Regions from separate parts of the Homo sapiens genome. Here regions 1, 2 and 3 are each linked to region 4. Evidence: promoter capture Hi-C in 16 types of primary human blood cells and fetal thymus (Javierre and others, 2016). All regions are on one chromosome and are shown on one strand. Each heading gives the region's core, a stretch centred on a gene start or on the middle of the fragment in contact. The rest is flanking DNA. Distances are from core to core; before and after follow the strand shown.

Region 1 (2,700 bases), core at 19-2,518, 170 kb before region 4:
TAATTTTACCTTTTTTACTTACCTTTTTAAAGGTTGCTACTAAAAAATTGAAAACTATGTATGTGGCTTGCATTATCTGTATGTTGGACAGCACTGTACTGAAAGCTGAGGGAGGTGAATGACTTCTGCTACAATCAGTCTCATAACTAGATTTATTTACAGAATTATTCTTCAATATGTGTAGCCATATAATTAGATTCACCTCAGTATTAGAATTGAAGCCTTAACCCATTGATTACTTAACATATGGAAAGATATTAAAAATATGGCCTGTTATTTAGCATAGTATAAAATACCATTGAATTCATGTATGATATTAGTTTATATGTCAGAAGTAACAGGCATTTTTAGGGGAAGATATATGTAACCTAAGGTGGTCTAAATCAGTATGCCAGTAATTGCTTTGCTCTTCAATTATTTGCTTTCTATCCTAGCTATATCATTCATATCCCTGCATGCGTGGAATTGCAGGCACACCCACCCATTGAGACCAGTTCTAGCTAAAGATACATGCTAGAGAGGGAATTCTCATCACTTCATTATCAAGCTACAGTTTTGCCTCTGGGTCTTGGTTATTATTACTCCCACCTGCTATCTAGATCTTAAGCTTGTATTACCCAGAATCTCACCTGCCTTTTGATCCTGTGTGTATAGACTCTTTGTCCGAGCTTCTGACTCTTCAGCACCCAGTCTGCTAGCTTGGATTTCTGAAGTCCTTTGCCTGACCCTTTTCAACTCTGGACCAGATGCTGGCCTAGATTTATTACACAATGCTTCTGCTGTTCCATGCCTGAGTTATCCTTTTATAGACTCGTCTTTCAGGGCCAGCTGCCTTATCGTAGTTGAACCTTTTCCTTCCCCTGGCTTTCCCTTGTGTTTGCTACACCATGTCATTTTGAGGGATGTTAGATGAGTGTTGCATAGAATTTAGCTTGGCCATTAGTTTTTATGAAAGTGTCTGCAATATGAAACATTGACTTCCTGTCATTTGTAGAAGCAGAACAGAGTGATGAACAACTTCATCAAGAAATATCTCAGGTGAGCTTTAAAAAACAGAGGTGTGGGGTTTTGTGTAGAAAAACAGTGATGATTTTATGAGCCTGCCTTTTTCATTCTCTTTGTTTGTTGGTTTTTGTGTTTTTTTTGGGACCGTGTTTCACTCTGTCACCCACTCTGTCACCCAGTGCAGTGGCGCAATTTTGCCTTATCGCAACCTCCATCTCGCAGGCTCAAGCGATTCTCATGCCTCAGCCTCCCAAGTAGCTGGGATTACAGGCATGCACCACCATGCCCAGCTAATTTTTGTATTTTAGTAGAGATGGGGTTTTGCCATGTTAACCAGGCTAGTCTCAAACTCCTGCCCTCAAGTGATACACCCCGTCCCTTTTTCATTCTCTTAATTACCAAAAGTTCTTTTGCAGTTCTTTATTGTTATGGCTGTTACTGAGTATGTGTTTTTGCTTTAAGTCCTTAGGAACATTTTCTCTTAGAGGCAAGCTAATTCTTTTTTTGTTTTTTTGTTTTAGCTGTTAAATTTTTTCTTCCTTTCACCCGAATATATTAATAAGTTGCTAATTAAGTGCTGTCTATGTTTTTATTATTTTTAGATACGATTAATTTGTTAATTTTTCTTCTAGGCTAATGTCATCTGTATAGTGTATGCCGTTAACAACAAGCATTCTATTGATAAGGTAGGTGTGATCTTTTTTTCCCTATAGTTGGTTTCAGTGGAGTGCTTCCAAAGTTGATTCTCAGTTTAGAATTTTAGGGGTCTAAGGGAAGAGTGTTTTGTAAAGATCCTTATCATGGCTAAGCGCTTGTTAATTTTCATTTTAGGTAACAAGTCGATGGATTCCTCTCATAAATGAAAGAACAGACAAAGACAGCAGGTATTTTTTCCTCTCTCAAACTTTTTATAATTAAAAAGTTTAAAGCTTGCAGAAAAGGTACAAGAAGTAGTACATTGAACTTCCCTAAATCCTTCACTTAAATTTACTAGGTAACGTTTTGCCACGTTTGCCTTATCTATCAGTTTTTCTGTCTGTTCATACACACACCCACGTGCCTTTTTTGGGGGGATTCATTTGAGGCAGTAGATATACTTGAGAGCAAAGCAAGAAACAGAACTCTGATATCATGATTCACAACTTCAGACAGATTATTTTGGTCATAAATCTTACATTTCTCTTCCTCAAACTGCTGCTTGAAAAGTCTCAGTTTTATTTATTTATTTATTTATTTATTTATTTATTTATTTATTTATTTTGAGACAGAGTCTTGCTCTGTCGCCCAGGCTGGAGTATAGGAGCACAATCTTGGCTCCTTGCAGCCTCCGCCTCCTGGATTCAAGTGATTCTCATGCCTCAGTCTCCTGAGTAACTGGGACTGCAGGCATGTACCACCATGCCTGGCTAATTTTCGTATTTTTTAGTAGAGAGGGTTTCGCACGTTGGTCAGTCTGGTCTCGAACTCATGACCTCAAATGATCTGCTCGCCTTGGCCTCCCAAAGTGCTGGGACTACAGGCAAGAGCTACTGTGCCTGGCCTGAATCTTTTTAAATAGGAAAATCAGACTAATATCTATATATTGTACACATTTAGTCCTTTTCTCAATTTTTTAGATTTCTCTTTTAGTTGGAAGTTTTTGTGCCTTGAAACGCTAAAGATCTGGTTCTAAACATATGACTATGGTCATTAACC
Region 2 (2,700 bases), core at 30-2,529, 160 kb before region 4:
TTTTTTTGTTTTTGAGATAGAGTCTCGCTCTGTCACCCAGGCTGTAGTGCAATGGCGCCATCTCGGCTCACTGCAACCTCCGCTGCCCGGGTTCAAGCGATTCTCCTGCCTCAGCCTCCCAAGTAGCTAGGACTACAGGCATGCGCCACAACACCCAGCTAATTTTTGTATTTTTAGTAGAGACGGGGTTTCACCATGTTGGCCAGGGTGGACTCGATCTCCTCGTGATCCGCCTGCCTCAGCCTCCCAAAGTGCTGGGATTACAGGCGTGAGCCACTGCACCCAGCCCATGTTTTACTTAAATAATACATTTAAAAAAGTGGTGACTATTCCTAATGTAGAATATGTTTCTTTGGTTGCAATTCATGGATTTAATATTGCTTTGTAGATTATCATTTTATATTATTTGTGGTTTTAACGCTGGTTTGTTTTTAAATATATTTTTATGTTTTTTGCTAGAGGATTTGTTTCAACACTCCATTAGCTCCTCAAGCTCTGGAGGATGTCAAGAATGTAGTCAGAAAACATATAAGTGATGGTGTGGCTGACAGTGGGTTGACCCTGAAAGGTGGGTAAATGGTATTTTTCCCCCTTTTGAAACTTAATATTTTCAAAATTTGGCAGAAGGTGAAGGTCTTTATTGCATTATTTATACTTTAAGGAAATGTTAATATTTACTAGTATGCCTAAAGTCTGATTTGGATATTTATGAGTTGGGAGGGACAGGCCATTGTTGGGGATTATCATCTTTACTACCAATATAAATTAGAGGTAGGGAAATTGGTTGGATCTCAAGGATACAGAGGTCCACCTGATGGAAGGAGATATCTGGAACAAAAAAAAAGTATCTTAAAATTCTTCCTACTCATAAACAGCCTTTAAATAGTCATTATTTTTAGGGAATTTTGTCTATGAGTCAAATTTACCAGTATAGAATGTTCCCTGGAGAATATATTATAGAGGCACAGTGAAGTTAATGAGATTGAAAACCAGAATTTTCCATGACAAAAATAAGCTCAAAGATCTGTAGAACACTACTCTCATATAACTTTGTGCATGTCAGTATATTCCTTGAGATGCAATGTTGGCCATTTCCTCTAGTGCTCTCTCTTGCTGAGCTGGGTGTATATGTGAAACAATTCTGAAATCAGCTCTGTTTCATTGAGATACTTGTGAATTTTGTTTTGTTTTGAGCTTTACAATGCAAAGCTAGCATCCGTATGTTCATGAATCTGGTTCTTGCCATTATGTTACATGCTTTTCTCCTATGTGACTCTGTACACTTTATTTACTAATTTACTTTATTTCAGGTTTTCTCTTTTTACACACACTTTTTATCCAGAGAGGGAGACACGAAACTACTTGGACTGTGCTTCGACGATTTGGTTATGATGATGACCTGGATTTGACACCTGAATATTTGTTCCCCCTGTATGTACCTTTGTTTTTTTTGTTGTTGTTGTTGTTTAATTTTTTATTGAGACAGGATCTCACTATGTTTCCCAGGCTGGTCTTGAACTCCTGAGTCAAGTGATCCTCCCACCTTGGCCTCCCAAATTGCTGTGATTAAAGGCATTGAGCCATGCCCAGTCACCTTTGGTTTTGTAATGATTTTACTTGTTAAATATTTTTAAGGTTGATTTAGCACACATGGGGAGGTGGGCTTCAAGCTAATTGGGAATATTTTAGAATTATAGCAGAGCTTTATAGCAGGATTTCTCAACCTCAGCACTATTGGCATTTTGGACCAGAAAATTTTTTGTTGTGGATGTCCTGTGCAGTATAGGATCTTTACCACATCCGTAGATGTCAGTGACACTTCCAGTTGTGACAACCAAAACTGTTGAGAAATTGCCGAATGTACCCTCTGAAGTGAAATTATCCCCAGTTGAGAACCACTGATTCCCTCATGGCTCAAACTTTTCCTCTTCTTGTCGAGACTACAAGTATCTTTTTTTGTTCATTTTACTGAGGAAGGAAAAATAAGATGCTAGACAACAAACTTGTTTTGGGAGTCAAGAGATCTCAGAAATATGTTGATTCACATTTTTCTTACATTGTTCTTCTCCCTCAGTTTTATAGCCTGTTCTTAGCTTAAGTTGAAGTAGGTATTTTCCTAAACGACTGGTCTATTTGTGGTTCTTTTTCTTTCTTTTTTTTTTTTTTTTTTCAGACGGAGTCTCGCTCTGTCACCCAGGCTGGAGTGCAGTGTCACGATCTTGGCTCACTGCAACCTCCCACCGCGTTTAAGCGATTCTTCTGTCTCAGCTTCCCAAGTAGCTGGGAATACAGGCGCCCGCCACCATGCCCGGCTAATTTTTTGTATATTTAGTAGAGAAGGGGTTTCACCGTGTTAACCAGAATGGTCTCGATCTCCTGACCTCGTGATCCACCCGCCTCAGCCTCCCAAAGTGCTGGGATTACAGGCGTGAGCCACTGCACCCGGCCTTTTTTTTTTTTCCCTAAGAGACAAGGTCTCATTTTGGCTAGCTCACTGCAACCTCAAACTCCATGGCTCAAGCAATCCTCCCACCTGACCTTCCCAAATAGCTGGGACTATAGGTGTGCAACACAATGCCTGGCTTTTTTTTCTTTCTTTCTTTGTTTTCTTTTTCTTTGTAGAAAAGCGGTCTCACTATATTTCCTAGGCTGATCTTGAACTCCTGGCCTCAAATGATCTTCTTGCCTCAGCCTCCTAAG
Region 3 (2,700 bases), core at 201-2,700, 210 kb before region 4:
AGTATTTCTGTGTTGCCCAGGCTGGAGTGCAGTGGCATGATCTCAGCTCACTGCAACCTCCACCTCCCAGGTTGAAGTGATTCTCGTGCCTCAGCCTCCCAAGTAGCTGGGATTACAGGTGCCCACCACCATGCCTGGCTAATTTTTGTATTTTTAGTAGAGATAGGGTTTCACCATGTTGGTCAGGGTGGTCTCGAACTCCTGACCTCAGGGATCCACCCACCTCATCCTCCCAAGTGCTGGGATTACAGGCGTGAGCCACTGTGCCCAGCCTTTCCTATTATATTAACTAATTTAATTTTCATAACAATCTCATGAGGTATGTCCTATTGTTATTCCCATTTGGCAGATGAGGCAAAGAGAAGTTAAATAATCTGTCCAGTGATGCACAGCTAGTAATTGGCACAACTGATGTTCAGATCTAGCAGGCAGACTCCAGCATCCTTAGTCTTTGTTGTTGTTGTTGTTTAAGAGACGGGGTCTTACTCTGTGGCCCAGACTGGAGTGCAGTGGTACAATCACAGCTCACTGCAGCCTCAACCTCCTAGGCTCAAGCAATCTTCCCACGTAGCTGGGACTACAGGTGTGCACCACCACGTCCAATTAATTCTTTAATTTTTTTTGTTTTCTTTTTTTTGGAGACAGAGTCTCGCTTAATCCCCCAGGCTGGAGTGCAGTGATGCGATCTCGGCTCACTGAAACCTCCGCCTCCCGCGTTCAAGAGATTCTCATGCTTCAGCCTCACAAATAGCTGGGATTACAGGCGCCTGCCACCACACCCGGCTAAGTTTTGTATTTTTAGTGAAGACAGGATTTTGCCATGTTGGCCAGGCTGGTCTCAAACTCCTGGCCTCAGGTGATCTGCCCACCTTGGCCTCCCAAAGTGTTGGGATTACAGGCGTGAGCCACGGCGGCTTAATTCTTTAAAATTTTTTGTAGAGACAGGGTCTCCTTGTGTTATTCAGGCAGGTCTCGAACTCCTGGGCTCAAGCAATCCTCTCATCCCCAGCCAAGCTTCCCTGCTTTAACCAGCGACCTGTGCTGTCTCCAGGAGAACATCAGAGTGACACCTAGTGGACGTTTGTTAACATCATAAGGAGGGAATAAAGTTCAAGGCAAGTCAGGGAGCCAGACTGGCAGAAGTATAGATGATCAGGAGATGGCTGCGGACTGTAGAAAGAAACTTACATTGCAGGGGAGGCAAACCCTGGCATACCAGACTCCCTCTCCCCAACTTTAGCAAGTGCTGGCCTCAGTTTGTACCAAACCATATCCATTGCTCACTGAAAGTGCTTGATATTGCCTCTTTTCTGCAGCTCTTGAGTTAGGTTTTTTTTTTTTAGATGGAGTCTCACTCTGTCACCCAGGCTCGAGTGCAGTGGTGCGATCTCAGCTCACTACAACCTCCACCTCCTGGGTTCAAGCGATTCTCCTGCCTCAGCCTCCCGAATAGCTGGGATTACAGGCATGCACCACCACGCCCAGCTAACTTTTGTATTTTTAGTAGAGACAGGGTTTCACCATGTTGGCCAGGCTGGTCTCAAACTCCTGAGCTCAAGTGATCCACCCGCCTCGGCCTCCCAAGGTGCTAGGATTACAGGTGTGAGCTATTGTGCCCGGCCTAGTCAGATTTTTATTTTTTTTTATTTAGAGACAGACTCTGGCTCTGTCACCCAGACTTGAGTGCAATGGTGCCATCATAGCTCACTGCAGCCTCCAACTCCTGGTCTCCAGTGATCCTCCCACCTCAGCCTCCCAACTGGGACTACAGGTGCATGCCACCACGCCCAGCTAATTTGTTTATTTTTTGTAGAGATGGGGTTTCAATGTTTCTCAGGCTGGTCTTGCACTCCTGGCCTCAAGAGATCCTCCCACCGCAGCTACCCCAAGCTTTGGGATTATAGGTGTTGAACCACCATACCTGGCTGGATATGGATTTTTAAGTAAGTTTTATTTACAAAGGAGTTCTTTGCAATATTGTATCTGTGATGTCCCTCTAAATAAATGCTTTTTCCAAGCCCCTGCCTACCAGACATTACCCAGTACACATCTACAACCCCACGAAGACCTTGTTACTGCTCACCCTCCTGGAGAAGCCCCAATGAGTCAACATTGTCATTAACTGGCAACGCTGATTGAGAGCTCTTAGGGATCTAGATTCTTCACAAAGCTGCATGGTGCAAGCAGTGCCCTAAAGAATTTGCCCCTCTGTAAAAGGCTTTTGTCCTCTGTGCTCTGATATTTGTGTAACTTGTTTTTTGTTTGTTTGTTTTTTAGGAAAAAGATTTACAATTCATTACATTATTCACATAAAATACATTATTTTATGAGCTCCTCCAAACAATTTCATAAGAGATCACAGCCTTCACTTGGTAGAGAGGAAACTGAGGCACAACTAGGTGACATGAGTTGCCTAGAGTCATGCACTAGGAATGGCAGAGCAAAGCTCAGCCTCAGCCATGCCGTCTGTGCCAGGTCATTGCGTCTCTGTGGGCCTTGCTTTTTTTTTTTTATCTACAGAGTAACGGGATTGGAATAGGAGCTCTGTCAGGGTTCTTCCAACTCAAACATTTTGTAACACTAAAATTCTGAGGGCTACTTTTCCCTGAAAGATCAGGTAACCAAGCCTCCTGAATTTCACATTTCCACTCATTGAGGTGTGGGGGGAGGAGGGAGATGAAAGCACCTTATTTACATCTA
Region 4 (2,700 bases), core at 79-2,578:
TATCTCTTGTGACCAGCACCTTCACTGACAGCTCCAGTCTTTTTTTTTTTTTTTTGAGACGGAGTCTCACTCTGTCACCCAGGCTGGAATGCAATGGCGAGATCTCGGCTCACTGCAACCTTCACCTCCCAGGTCCAAGTGATTCTCCTGCCTCATTCTCCCGAGTAGCTGAGGTTACAGGCGCCTGCCACTACGCCTGGCTAATTTTTGTATTTTTAGTAGAGACAGGGTTTCACCATGTCGGCCAGGCTGGTCTCGAACTCCTGACCTCAAGTGATCCGCCTGCCTCGGCCTTGGCCCATAGTGTTGGGATTACTGGCGTGAGCAACCGCGCCCGGCTATCAGCTCCAGTCTTACCACGATTAGTTTTTCACGTGCCCAGCCTCAAAGACTTAAACTCTTTGCTCCCTTACGGAGATACCCTTTCCTTCACCTTGCTTGCTCCCGTTGACTCCTCAAGAAACCTTTCTTATGTCGGGCGCAGCGGCTCAAGCCTGCAATCCAGCACTTTGGGAGGCCGAGGCGGGCGGATCACTTGAGCCCAGGAGTTCGAGACCAGCCTCGCTAACATGGTGAAACCCCATTCTACTAAAAATACAAAAATTAGCCGGGCTTGGTGGCGCGGGCCTGCAGTCCCAGCTACTCGGGAGGCTGAGGTAGGAGAATCGCTTGAACCCGGGAGACGGAGGTTGCAGTGAGCAGAGATCGCGCCGCTGCACTCCAGCCTGGGAGACAGAGCGAGACTTGGTCTCAGAAAAATAAAACAAAACAAAGAAAAACAAAACTTTACTTGACAACCCAACGACCACTACCACTACAGCCGCCCTAGGACTCCCGCTCTCTGAGGTCCTACAGCACTTCGCATTTCCCTCAACGCCGCACTGAGAACTCTGCATTGTGTACTCGTCTGTCACCAATCTGCGAGTTACAAAGCAGAGACTAACTTATTTGGTTTAGCATTTAATAGGCACATAATCAACATTTACTGTTCAATTGAAACAAAATTAAAATTGGGCGCTGTCTCTATCTTTATTTGTGATCGGCCCTAACTGCACTGGCAATCTTTTCCGTTTTTTTGTTTTCTGTTTTCCATTCGCATGCCCCTTAGCGTACCTGGGGCTCCGGCTCCTTTACAAATGAAACCCAAAGTGCTCCGCAAGCACAGCCAGCGAAAGCGAAAAACTCTGAAACGGACAAGATGGCTGCCACCTCTTCGCGCCTCTTAGTCCCACCCACTCAGGGCGGAGGTCTGCGTCATGTGACCCTCCCCTTCTTGGCTCCGCCTCCTACCGCAGTGCTTGACGGGAGGCGGAGCGGGGAACGAGGCCGTCGGCCATTTTGTGTCTGCTTCCTGTGGGACGTGGTGGTAGCCGTTGGGTTGGGAAAGTGAGGGATTTTTGGCCTCGTTTCTCCTGCTTCTTTTCTCCTCCCTTTTACTTTGCCGGTAGAACACAGTTATGGGTCGCAAGAAGAAGAAGCAGCTGAAGCCGTGGTGCTGGTATCCTTTGTCGGTTTGAAGTCGAGGTCGCGTTGGGGTGCCGGTTGTTGGGGCCTGGGACTAGGAGGCCTGGATTTGGCTTACGGCGTGGAGCGTTTGTATTTAGGCGTCTGCGTGGGTGGCCTGGTGGCTGGGATTGGACTTGGGAAGGCTTCTAGGAAAATGGGGTTCCGAGGTCGACAGGCTTTTGCAGTTGTGGGTCGTGTGACTCTGTGACTCAGGAGGATCTTGTTCGGTGCGAATTTTGGACTCCGGGAGGCGGCCTGGACCCCTCCGCCAGGGACAGTGTCCCCTAGGGACTATTCAGCCACCTTCCGTTGTTTTGGTGACGATTCAACAAGGGACTTTTCTTCGAGTGCGATAGGCTTATTACTTTCATGGAGGGTTGGGGACAGCTTCACAGTCTGTCACCCACTTTTTCTGTTTTTATTTACTTTATGTGTGTTTTGTGTTTATTTTTTCGAATTGGCGGTTTAGTAAAGAACCAAGTTAGTCAACCCTGGTTTCGAACCTTTTTTTTTTTTTTTTTCTTTTCGGGGCGGGAGGAGAACTAGCTTCCGTGTCTCACCCAGAGGCGCCTTAATCTTCAGGAAGCGTTCTCACAGGGCGGAGTTTCTGTTACCCAACTTTGTAGGACTAAAAAGTGCCTATCTTATTAGGAAAACTCTTACTACAGTGTGGTATTAATGCTTTTTCTGGAAGCGTTAATATTCTTTACATTAAAATTGATTTTATTTACTGTTTTGTACGTAAAGGCGGCTTGTTACAGTACTGCGTTTATGTAACAGTTTTAAAAATAGCTTAAATACGGTTACGAATTTTGTAATGTGATTTTAGGAAAATCTGAGTAGTGAGGTAAGAATTCTGTTTTATTGATGTAAGAATTCTGCTTTATTGATTTTATTGATCTGTGAATTTAAATACATTGCTTGGCAACATAAATTCATACGGAATTGGAAACAACTTTATGGATTGTTCATTCGAAATTATGTGATTATTGTTCACCATATAGTTACTCTTAGATTCTAAATATTGCTAAATTCCTAATCCAGTTATTGCTATCGTCTTCATATCTAGTGAAGTAATTGTCTTGACAGAACCTTAGGGATTTCTTAACTGAACTCTTTCCTGTCCTCAGTGTGCATTTGTAAATGTTGAAATATTTATAACAAAAGTTTCACCGACATCTCTGTTAAACACAG

Evidence for each region. The method cuts DNA at HindIII sites, captures the fragments that hold promoters and counts their contacts. A CHiCAGO score of 5 or more calls a contact.
Region 1: a contact is called between a fragment that was not itself captured here and the fragment with the promoter of ZNF207 in region 4, in 4 of 17 cell types (M1 macrophages, M0 macrophages, monocytes and 1 more). The highest score is 6.8, in M1 macrophages.
Region 2: a contact is called between a fragment that was not itself captured here and the fragment with the promoter of ZNF207 in region 4, in 4 of 17 cell types (M1 macrophages, M2 macrophages, monocytes and 1 more). The highest score is 7.9, in M1 macrophages.
Region 3: a fragment that was not itself captured here is called in contact with the fragment with the promoter of ZNF207 in region 4 in 1 of 17 cell types (erythroblasts); the score reaches 6.5 in erythroblasts.

The regions. Positions count from the first base shown.
Region 1 is chr17:32,174,325-32,177,024 of GRCh38, forward strand. RHOT1 (ras homolog family member T1) reads left to right here. Exons shown (of 20, transcript NM_001033566.3): 4 at 995-1,038; 5 at 1,638-1,691; 6 at 1,837-1,889. Among named protein-coding and RNA genes, the nearest start is that of RHOT1, 33 kb to the left of the region's middle. The HindIII fragment of the contact is 1,327 bases long and covers 606-1,932 here.
Region 2 is chr17:32,192,677-32,195,376 of GRCh38, forward strand. RHOT1 (ras homolog family member T1) reads left to right here. Exons shown (of 20, transcript NM_001033566.3): 10 at 460-568; 11 at 1,311-1,431. Among named protein-coding and RNA genes, the nearest start is that of RHOT1, 52 kb to the left of the region's middle. The HindIII fragment of the contact is 5,090 bases long and covers 1-2,700 here.
Region 3 is chr17:32,137,998-32,140,697 of GRCh38, forward strand. No RefSeq gene overlaps it. Among named protein-coding and RNA genes, the nearest start is that of RHOT1, 3.2 kb to the right of the region's middle. The HindIII fragment of the contact is 876 bases long and covers 1,013-1,888 here.
Region 4 is chr17:32,348,829-32,351,528 of GRCh38, forward strand. It overlaps ZNF207 (zinc finger protein 207), which reads left to right and starts at 1,329. Exons shown (of 12, transcript NM_001098507.2): 1 at 1,329-1,498. The coding sequence starts at 1,458. It overlaps MIR632 (microRNA 632), which reads left to right and starts at 1,281; the gene lies at 1,281-1,374. It also overlaps a transcript of C17orf75 not described here. RefSeq lists enhancers at 779-898, 1,069-1,418. The HindIII fragment of the contact is 13,651 bases long and covers 1-2,700 here.